Regions from separate parts of the Homo sapiens genome. Here region 1 is linked to region 2. Evidence: promoter capture Hi-C in human tissues and cell types (Jung and others, 2019). All regions are on one chromosome and are shown on one strand. Each heading gives the region's core, a stretch centred on a gene start or on the middle of the fragment in contact. The rest is flanking DNA. Distances are from core to core; before and after follow the strand shown.

Region 1 (5,693 bases), core at 2,965-5,464, 430 kb before region 2:
AATATTTCATGTAGGCTTGAGAAGAATATGTATGCTGTTGTTGAATGAATGATTCTATAAATATGTTTCAATTAAATCCAGTTGATTGATAGTGCTGTTGAGTTCAGCTATATCATTAGTGATTTTCTGCAGAACTGATCTGTCAATTATTGATAGAGGTGAGTTGTTTTCCCTCAACTATAATCCTAGATTTGTGTATTTTGCCTTGTGGTTTTATATGTTTTTGCATTATGTATTTTGATGCTCTGTTTTATGGGCATAGATGTTAAGGATTATTATGTCGTGTAGGATTGACTTCTTGATCATTATGAAATCTCTCTATCCCTTGTAATTTTTAAAAAATCTAAAACCTGATTTGTCTGAATGTAATATAGGTCTTCCAAATTTCTTTTGATCAGGGCTAGAATGGCATGTATTTCTTCATACTTGTGTATTTAATGTATCTGTGTCTTTCTGTTTAAAATACTTTTTAAAAATATAGTTTGGGGCCTTGTTTTTTATTTCACTCTGCCAGTCCCTTTCTTTTTTACTGGTGAATATAGATAATACACATTTAAGTGGCAGTTGGCATAATTGGATTCAGATAAACATGTATATTATTGTTTTCTATTTGTTGTTCTTCTCTGTGTTTTTTAACTTCTCTTTTCTGCCCTTTTTCCTTTTAGCTGAGCATTCTATATGATTTTATTTTCTATATTATATATCTATATAGTCTACTTTTTCTTAGATTCTATTAGTGAGTTCCCCAGAGTTTGTAGTATAGCATTCACAACTAATGGGCCTTCAATTTCAAATAGTACTATACTGGCTTCAGGAATAGTGCTGGTATAATAGACAGTTCCGAAGTGTGATAGACTGTTCTTCCTCCCATCACATATAACATTACTTTCATTCATTAGTTCAACTGGGAGCTATAAACTACTGAATACATTGTTGATATTATTATTTTTTCTTTTGAGACAGAATCTCACTCTGTTTCCCAGGCTGGAGTGCAATGGCATGATCTCGGCTCACTGCAACCTCTGCCTCCTGGGTTCAAGCAATTGTCCTGCCTCAGCCTCCCTAGTAGCTGGGATTACAGCTGTGCACCACCACGCCCAGCTAATTTGATATTATTATTTTGAATAAACCTATATCTATTAGATCAGATAGGTATAAGAAGAGTAAAGAATTTTTTGTGCCTTCATTTAATTGTTTCCTAACACTCTTCATATATATGTGTGTGTATACACACACACACACACACACACACAATCTGAATTTCTAACCCATATCATTTTTTTCTTTCTGATGAACTTCTTTTTTTTTTTAACTCAGACCAGGTAATTTCAATTGTTTTACCTTCATTTTAGTTTTTTTTTTCCACTGGTTGCTCACATCTGTTGAATACCTTTAGTGATGTTTTCATTTAAGTTGTTGTATCTTGCAGCTGCAGAAATTCTATATGGCTCAATTTTTAACATATTTTGGTATTATTTTATCCCTACATCAATTTTCTGGTTTTCTCTTAGTTCTTTGTTTATTATTGTCTTTACTAAGTTAAATATATTTAAGACAGTTGCTTTACTGTTTTTATTCAGTAAATCCAGTGTCTGAGGTTTCTCAGATTTATCTCAAATTGTTTCCATTAATGAGTCGTATTTTCATGTTTCTCTGTTTTATTTATTTCTCTGGGGTTTTTTTGGGGGTGGGGGTATTGAAAAGGAGACATTTGAATGTTATAACTGGGTAACTCTGGAAATCAGATTTTTGCCCCTTAATTGTTTGGTATTCTTGCTTGAAGGCTGAAATTATTCATTTCTTTTTCTTTTTTTTAAATAGAGACAGAATCTCACTATGTTGCCCAGGCTGGTCTCAAACTCCTGGCCTCAAGTGGTCCTCCTCCCTCAGCCTCCCAAAGTTCTGGTATTACAGGCTTCAGCCACTGCACCTGGCCTATTCATTTGTTTAGTAACATTTCCAAATTAGTTTGCAGAGACTGTATTTCCTACTGGGTATAAACACTGAAGTCTCTGTTCTTTAGCTTGTGATCATGCAGTGTTCTGACAGAGATTTCCTGACTTTAGCTTGTGTTCATCCAGCGTTCTGACAGAGATTTCCTGAATGTTAGAAGCTAAAAGTAAAAAAGAAGATGAAACAAACAAAAACCTGACCTCTTCCAGTCTTCATGGATGGCTCTCTGCTGGGGCATTCTTTGAGCACTTAGCCACAGTATTTACTACTGTAGCCTTCTCTTTCTGTTTAAATCTGGATGTTAGCCAGAGCTGAAAAACAGAATCCCCACCCATCTTTTATAAAAATATATTGTTTCCTGTGCCTGCGTGGGGCTTTCTCCATTCCCCAGTATATCTGGGTGCTTTCAAATATGCTTATTTGTAAAGAAAAATTATACCCTAGCCTTTTCTCCTGGGACTTAGATGGTCTAATATATGTCTTTTTTTTTTTTCCTTGAAATAGTGTCACTCTTTCACTCAGACTTGAGTGCAGTGGCACAATCGTGGTTCACTGCAGCCTCAACCTCCTAGGCTCAAGCAATTCTCCTACTTTCCTGAGTAGCTGGGACTACAGGCATGCGCCACCATACCCACCTAATTTTGTTTATTTTTTGTAGAGATGAGGTCTCCCCACATTGCCCAGGCTGGTCTTGAACTCCTTGCCTTTAAGCAATCTGACCCCCTTGGTGCCGAGACCAGCTCAGTCGTGGAGAGCCTAACCCAGCGGCACTAGAGGAATTAAAGACACACACACACAGAAATTTAGAGTGTGGAGTGGGAAATCAGGGGGCTGACAGCCTTCAGAGCTGAGAGCCACAAACAGAGTTTTACCCACATATTTATTGACAGTAAGCCAGTGATAAGCGTTGTTTCTATAGATTATAGACTAACTAAAAGCCTTCCTTACGGGAAACAAAGGGAAGGGCTCTGGCTAGTTATCTGCAGCAGGAACTTGTCCTTAAGGCACAGATGGCCCATGCTATTGTTTGTGGTTCAGGAACGCCTTAAGCAGTTTTCCACCCTGGGTGGGCCAGGTGTTCCTTGCCCTCATTCCGGTAAACCAACAACCTTCAGCATGTGCGTCATAGCCATCACGAGCATGTCACAGTGCTGCAGAGATTTTGTTTATGGCTAGATTTGGGGGCCTGTTCCCAACACCTTGGCCTCCCAAAGTACTGGGATTACAGGTGTGAGCCACCACACCTGGCCTTCTAATGTATGTCTTAGTCATCTTGTGTTGTCCTAGGTGGTTGCACACTTTTTGTGTATTTTACAACATTTTAAAGTAGTTCCTGCCCAGTTTGACTCTGATTGGATTCTGTTGTAGATGAAATAGAAAAGAGAGCCTTGTTTCAGACCTTCGGTTAGTCCCCAGACTGATTCAAAAATACAAAGGCAATAATGTGGAAACAAAATGTGATCTGTACACTCTGTGGTGATCAGAGTTCTACACTGGGAACTCTGCTGTCTTCAGGACTGGCAATGAGATGGGCAGAGATGGGGCCAAAGAAAAAACAATACAAGGCTTTTCTATCATTTTTCACTTTCCTGTTTATGTATCTTTTTCTCTCTGTTAATAGTATGGGATGTGAAAAATTACAGTTTTAAATCTTCTGTTTGTTTTTGTAAAGCTGTCTACTTTCTTGATGAGAAGGTTTTTTTTAAGCATCTTTAGACATTTATGACTTCTATAAAAATTGGTTTATGTAATGTTATTGATTATTAAATGTCTGCTGTTGAGATTTATGGAATATAATTGATATTCATGAAAGCTGACACTGAATTCTGTCTAAGAACATTTGCAGTCTGTCCTCTTCTTTTCTTTCTCCTTCGACATTACCCAGTAGAAAGTTACAATTTTTTCTATTTAGTTGGTAAAATCTCTTTTATTAGTCTTTTGTCATACTTAACTACATTTGATCTACAGGGAACCAGTCACCAGCTTCCAAATATTCTCTCTGTGTAATCACGTAGGATAGGCTAAATCCCCCAAGTAAGACATTGAAAAAACAACAACAACAAAAATATGAAATATCATCTACCAGAGTTGCACATTAGGGACCCTGTGCCTAGAGTGTTTCTTTGTGTATGTCTTAGTCTATAAGACTGTTTTTTTGTTACTTACAACAGGATACCAGAACTGGGGTAATCTATAAGAAATGATATTTATTTTTTGCAGTTCTGAAAGCTGGGAAGATCAAGTAAGGTCAAAGTGGGCATCTGGTGGGAATCTTCTTGCTGATGGGGACTCTGTAGAGTCCCTGGGTGGTACAGGGCATTACATGATGAGGGGGCTGAGTGTCTAGCTGAAGTATCTTCCTCTTCTCATAAGGACACCAGAACCTCATCTGTGATAACCAGTTTATTTATTAAGCCATTCATACATGAGTGGATTAATCCATCCATGTGTTCCAAACCCTCAAGACCCACTCACCTCTTAAACCACTACCTTTGATTACTTCCACATTGGAGATTCAGTTTCAGCCTGCATTTTGGAGGGGAAGACATTCAAACCTAGCAGTGGCTGATTGGGTACACTTCCTCTGCTGAGGATGTAATACAATTCCAAACTCTCAGAGGGAAGTTAGGAGTTAAGCAAATACCATAATTTTTACACAAATAGTTTAGGCACACTCCACCCCCTTTATTAGTTATGCTTACGGGGCCCTCCCCTAAATACATTGTCTAGACACCACGAAAGGTTCAACATTGTGAACAAGCAGTTGTAAGGATATGCCGTCTCAGGACTGCTAATTGTAACTCTCTTTTGCACAGTAGGTGGTAGGACTTTGTCATGACAAGGACTACAGACCCACTGTAGAAACAGACATTAGGAGTAATCCAGGCAATAAGATTCACTTGCATAATTCACCAATAAGAGATATGTTCCTACTCAACTGTTATTTTAGCAAGCCCAATTCCAGCATCAGAATTCCAGCATCAGACAGTGAGTGCAGACACAGAATAAGAGTGGATTTACCACGTCATTGAATAAATGCTTGGAAACCACAGCATCATGGGAAGTTTATGAAGGTGAGTATAGGTTCTCAGTACTGTGAGTTTCAACCTTCCTTTTCTGGACATATGGGATGTTTCAGGACTCAGTGGCCTTTGAGGATGTGGCTGTGAACTTCACCCATGAGGAGTGGGCTTTGCTGGGTCCATCACAGAAGAATCTCTACAGAGATGTGATGCGAGAAACCATTAGGAACCTGAACTGTATAGGTATGGATGACATCATGTCTTCATTTGGTCAATTAGAGACATTTGTTTTGTGGTCATCAATGCTGTTCAGTGATTTGAAATATGGAAAAGGGATACAGTTCATTCCTGAACAACACAGGGTGAAGTGCCAGGCCCCAACCTGTTGTATGTCCTCATATAATCTTTTGTCTGCCACAGCTTAACCTACTTTTGACCAGCAGCCTTATCAGTCATATAAACAAGTGACGAGCACATATATGTCATATGTATTGCATACTGTATTCTCAGAATAAAGTAAGTTAGAGAAAGTAAATTTTTTTTCTTTTTTTTTGAGATGGAGTCTTGCTCTGTCGCCCAGGCTGGAGTGCAGTGGCTCCATCTTGGCTCACTACAAGCTCCGCCTCCCGGGTTCACACCATTCTTGCCTCAGCCTCCTGAGTAGCTGGGACTACAGGCGCCCGCCACCATGCCCAGCTAATTTTTTGTATTTTTAGT
Region 2 (5,954 bases), core at 2,577-5,076:
GACGACAGAGTGAGACCCCGTCTCAAGACAAACAAACAAACAAAAACAACCAAGTAATTCAAATATTTAAGCTGGTGCATCTCTAAACTGTCTTGAAGCAATGTGATCATGGGGTTGAGTCACATGACACACAGCTTTCAAATAGCCAGCTGGAACACCTCTTTCCTTGATTACAGATTCGCCTTCCTTCTTACCTATACTGTTTTATAAAATGTTGTAAATGACTGAAGGGAAACAGGAAAGACCCTTTCCCTCTTTGCTATTTTTAATTTATTTAATATGATTTTTCACAATTGAGATGGGGGGTCTCACTATGTTGCCCAGGCTTGAACTCCTGAGATCAAGCCATCCACCTGCCTCAGCCTCCCAAAGTGCTGGGGTTACAGGTGTGAGCCATCCCACTGGGCCCCTCTTCACTACTGATCTCTGTAGTAGACTAACTTCCCTCTTAACTTTCTCACACAAAGACTTCATGGCTATCACATTGTCTTCAGTTGGAATGTTGAATTCACTCTTTTAAATTGAAAAGGAAATAAAAACCAGCTAGAAAGAAAAGAAAACAAGCTCTGGGGGAAAAAAGCAAACGATAACAAATTAAGTTGTTAGCCAGGTGCACTGGCTAACGCCTGCAATCCCAAGACTTGTGGAGGCCAAAGAAGGAGGACTGTTTGAGGCCAGGAGCTAGAGACAAGCCTGGGCAATGTATCGAGACCCCACCTCCATAAAAAATTAAAAATTACCCAGGTGTGGTAGTGGGCGACTATAGTCTCAGCTACTTGGGAGGCGGAGGTGCTCAAGATGGGGAAGTCAAGGCTGCAGTAAGCCGTGATGGCACCACTGCTCCAGCCTGGGCCACAGAGCAAGACATTGCCTCAAAAAAAAAAAAAAATTAAATTATTGTACCTCATACATCAGCCTTCTATGGAAAATGTAATCCTATTATATTTATTTGCCGTTTCCCTATATAAGTGTTAGGGAAGCAGGTGCCTAGGGGAGCCAGAGAAAGACCAACCAGCTCCATCTTGAGACTAACAAGAAACACTCCTTGCCAGTCACAACCCATAGTCATAAAATGTTTCCCATGAAGAAAACAGCCTGAAGATGCCTGCAAGTATCCTTACACTCCCACAACGACAGAATGTCCCGATGTCCCAATACCCCAATACCCATAATATGTGCTTTCAAGGTAATTATAGTTATGCTTTAATGCACTTGTGCACTAAAATGTAAAGGATAGTTTTCTTTAAATCAACAGAGTAATAAATTTTGTGATGCTGTCAGCCCACATGCAGGTAGGCACAGCTTAGTTTATTCTTTACATAGACAAGATCCCTACATAAGAAAAACTTAAGACAGTACATTCCTCCTCTTGCTGTATGAGGATGCCCTACTCTGTAACAGAGAAGCTTTCTTTCTTCTTCTTCTTCTTTTTTATTTTTTTAAATAGAGACAGGGTCTCGCTGTGTTGGCCAGGTTGGTCTTCAACTCTTTTTTGTTTGTTTGTTTTGTTTTTGTTTTTTGAGATGGGGTCTCACTCTGTTACCCAGGCTGGAGTGCAGTGGCGCATCCTCGGCTGGGCTGCAACCTCTGCCTCCCAGGTTCAAGTGATTGTCCCACCTCAGCCTCCTGAGTAACTGAGACTACAGGCACAGGCCACCACATCCGGCTAATTTTTCTTATTTTTGGAAGAGACGGGGTTTCGCTAAGTTGCCCAGGCTGGTCTCGAACTCCTGAGCTCAAGTGATCCTCTCGCCTGGGCCTCCCAAAGTGCTTGGATTACAGGCCTAAGCCATCATGCTGGCCCAGAGTAGCTTTCAATAAACTCTCTTCGCACTGCACTTTGTGACTCGTCTTGAATTCCTTCCTGTGTGAGATCCAAGAACTCTCTTGGGGTCTGATCAGGACCTCTTTTTTCAGTAATATAAGCAAGAACATAACTTCCAATTTTGGAGTACTGAGTCCATTTTTCTGGAGTCTGTGTTTTGGTCATTGCTATCTTTCTGCTTGAATAAACTCTTCCAACTGAAATCTGAACCTTTTGATTATTTCCGGTTGACAAGTCCAAATAAGGCGACTGCATCTCTGCAACCAATCAAGCATTTATCTGGTTTGTCTCCTCATGTACCTTATAAAAGCCTAGCCTTAAACATGTAAAACAAAAATAAAAACATATCTTCTGGCATGGCGATGTGGCTCACATCTGTAATCCCAGCACTTTGGGAGGCCGAGGGGGGTGGATCACTTGAGGTCAGGAGTTTGAGAACAGCCTGGCCAACATGGTGAAACCCCATCTCTACTAAAAATACAACAATTAGCTGGGGGTGGTGGTGCGTGCCTGTAATCCCAGCTACTCAGGAGGCTGAGGCAGGAGAATCCCTTGAACCCAGAAGGCAGAGGTTGCAGTGAGCCGAGATCGAGCCATTGCACACCAGCCTGGGCGACAGAAGGAGACTCCGTCTCAAACAAAAACAAAAACAAACAAAGTACCTTCCCAGCTAAGTGAAGTGACTGGCTCTTGGCCAAGGGAACCCCCAAAACACCCTGAAAATTGAGTGCCTCTGTATGACAGGATGGGAGGTGAGACAGGTCTCCTTATACCCTCTCCCTTTAGGAGTTTACATGCAGCAACTGACGCACATTCATGTAAAAACAGACATTCTCTGACTGGAAAAACAGACTCCTTGTGGCAACAAGATACCAAATTACAAACAAGACCTAAGGCCACGCAAGGCAAAGGTAAAGTTACGTCTTAGAATTCATAAAATCTAGAGAAACAGGACTGTTTTTTGGCTGGGATGGAATGAAGTGGCAGATAACAGACCCCCTTCCTTCAGCATTCCTTCCTACCTCCTCCAAACTTTAGACAAAGCTTCACACTCTCAACCAGCTGCCACCTACAGAATCCCTCAACCACCTGTGCCTCCTAACCCCCCTTCCACAGGTCCCACCCTTTCTGCCAATGGAATTTACACCTTCCAGCCTTGATCCATCATTTTCCCTGCAATTCCTGTCTCTCTGAAATGAATAAAACCAAACTGTCCTGAGCCGCCTCCGGACCACTTACTCCAGGCTGCTTGGGGTTGTGTTTCCCTCGGCCAAGGTCTCTCCTACTCGGCTCTGAATACACTTCTGTATTTTACATAGTCTGTTTTTTTTCCGTTGACAAACCACAAGCCAGGACCGGGTGTTTCTCATTCGTGAATGGCTGTTTCCTCAAATGAACTTTTTGTTAACGTACCTCAGTATAATTTTTAACAGGAGAAAGTGGAGGCTGTGGGCCCCACAGACCGCTGCTCCTCCTACGGACGAAATCCACACCCGAGTCGAAATCCGCGCATGACCCTCCCGTGGCCCCCGCACAAGCTGGGGCGTCGGGCTGCGGGCGCGGAGCTGCACAAAAGGGCTTCGGGGCCAAGGCCGCAGTCGACGGGCAGGGACGGGACAGGACGCCCGGAGTCCCGGCTGCCGGCCCACCCACATCCAGCGGCCGCGGGGACCGAGGGCCGAGCAGCTCTAGGAGGACTCGGTCCCAGACCCCGGAGTCGCCCACAGGGAGGCCCGGGTCCCGCCAGTTCCAGGCAGCCCCTCCCCCATCGCACCACTCCCGGCCAGCACACGCACCATTTCCCGGCTTTCAGATGTACCGGGGTCCTCTCTACAGCTCCTGTGAGTAAAGCAGGGCATAGCGCAGGTGACAGAGCGACAGAAATCTGGGTAGAGGCACTAGGTCCCTCTCGGGGCTGGAAAGGCCAGATCCCAACCGCCGCCCTCGCAGCGACAAAGGTGACGGCAGGAATGCAACATCCTCCGTGCCTGGATGCACAGTGGGCAGGGCCCCGAGCCAGTGCCTCTGATTGGATGGAATGTTCGGCCCCGCCCCCCACGTCTAAGTGACAGCGGAAGCCCTGGGTATCAGGCCCTGCGGAGCCAGACTGACAGATTCTAGCAACAGCTTCTCTAAGCTTACACGAGCTGCTTCCTGCACTCGGGTTATTGGATAGTTGCATTTCAGCCAAACTTGCTATTGTTAGAAGAGAACACTAGCGTCTTCCTCACTCAAAGGACTGTCCCCGCTCCTTCGTTCTGCACGGGGTCACAGGAGTGTGCAGGGAATTTCAGACTCAGTGTCCACAGGAGCCATCTCCTGCCTCAGAGCAGCAGGGGAACCGAGACCAGGCCAGGCAAGACTGCACCAGGAGGAGAGGCATATTTCCTCGAGCGGGCCGGAATTGGGGATGAGGCATGGCCAAGACTTGCTCACACACCCCCATCCCCTCCTCACAGTATGAAAATGCTCCGTCCTTCCAGATCTTCATTTTCACCTGCAGGAAACTCTCACCTGGGGTTAAGCTTCGGACCTAAATAAACTGTCAACCTCATAAACCTTTTATCCAGGTGACGCCACCAAACAATTGTGTCTCTAGCCTGATTTTCACACATTTTCTTTATATATACAAATAACTCTGACTCCAGCGACCCCATGTATGTCAAACCCCAAACCCTGCCCAGAAGACAGCCCCAGGCTCCAGAGGTACAACACCAGAAAGGACAGAACCCCACAAATGCGTCTGCACGAAGGTCTTCTGCTTTCCAGGGCCCTACAGCTTCTCGGAATCCACACTCCTTCTGGAGCTGCTCTGAGCAGCTGGAGGCCACCTGTAGGGGAGGGCGGGCTGCCCAGGAAGCCCCCAGGAAAAGCTCCTTTCCCTTCCTTTGCAGGCTCCAGACTGGCCTCAGCGTGGAGTCACTGGCCTCGGGCTCTGCTGCCCCTGCAGGTTATTCAGCTACTTCTCACCCCATTGATCAGTTCCATGACACAAACACCCTCAATCCCATTGTGTGAATAAGACACCAGCAGAGTCCCTGCTCTCCTCCTATGTTTATGTATAAAGTGGGGAAGGAAAATTCTAAGATAACTTAAGTACATTTAAAAGACTTCCAGATCGCGGTGGAGGTGGCAGCGGAGGGACCCACGGTCACTGACACTGCAGCACCTCCAGGCCTGTCTGGTCAGAGAAAGGGTGGAAAGCTGGAGATGGATGTGGATACGTGGAGGGAGCAGCCCTGGGAACTGGGCTCTGCAGCAGCGCGGCTCTAGGGCCTGGAGCCCGGGAGAGCACAGATGGGGGCTCCTGGGACAGGATGCTCAAAGAAGAGTCAGGTGGCTTCCATGAAATGGGGTGCTATGGCAGCTGGTGAGGGCCTGTGGCTATCATAATTTGGGACGTGAAAACTTGGATTCCGTGGGAATTTATGAAGAGGAAGGCTCTGATGACAAAGAAGTCATCGATGAGGAGGGGGATGAGGGTCACTGGCAAGCTCGCTTCCTTATGGAAAGAAAAGTGAACACCCAACTACTGCTGCAAAATGGGGTGAAAGGATGAGACTCTCACTGTCAGGGAATAAACTGCTGCAGAACTCTTAGAGATTGCAAAGACCTTTCAACAACAGCCTGGGAGGCCGGGTGCCATGGCTTACACCTGCAATCCCAACATTTTAGGAGGCCAAAGTGGGAGGATCACTTGAAGCCCGAAGTTGAAGACCACCCTGAGCAGTGAAGTGAGACACTCCCATCTCCATAATTTTTTTTTTATTAGCCTGGAGAGGTGGTGTGTACCCTTAGTCTCAGCTACTCAGGAGCCTGAGGCAGGAGGATTACTCGAGCCCCAAAGTTTGAGGCTGCTGTGAGCTTTGATCAGGCTACTGTACTTCAGCAAGACACGGTCTCAAAAAAAAAAAAATCCCACCAAATTCCCTGGGGAAACCCTGACCCCCTTGGATGGTCTAATTGTAAAACACAGAGGGTGGTGACGTTTCCTTATGGACTGGATCATTCTAGCCATGTAAGAGGCTTGGACTACTGAGGATTTACCAGGCGGATGACCTCCTTGCTGTCAATGTAAAAGGCCCCTGGTGAAACCATCCCTTTAAACTTTATCAAATTCATCAGGGAG

The links. Contacts are between HindIII fragments. The study calls those that stand out against the background at their distance.
Region 1: a contact is called between a fragment that was not itself captured here and the fragment with the promoter of ZNF439 in region 2, in 2 of the 25 tissues and cell types used here (dorsolateral prefrontal cortex and mesenchymal stem cells).

What each region holds. Positions count from the first base shown.
Region 1 is chr19:12,275,482-12,281,174 of GRCh38, reverse strand. It overlaps ZNF44 (zinc finger protein 44), which reads left to right. Exons shown (of 4, transcript NM_016264.4): 2 at 5,093-5,219. Among named protein-coding and RNA genes, the nearest start is that of ZNF44, 17 kb to the left of the region's middle. The HindIII fragment of the contact is 9,813 bases long and covers 1-5,693 here.
Region 2 is chr19:11,846,598-11,852,551 of GRCh38, reverse strand. It overlaps ZNF439 (zinc finger protein 439), which reads right to left and starts at 3,826. Exons shown (of 4, transcript NM_001348719.2): 1 at 3,622-3,826. The coding sequence starts at 3,684. The HindIII fragment of the contact is 2,018 bases long and covers 2,139-4,156 here.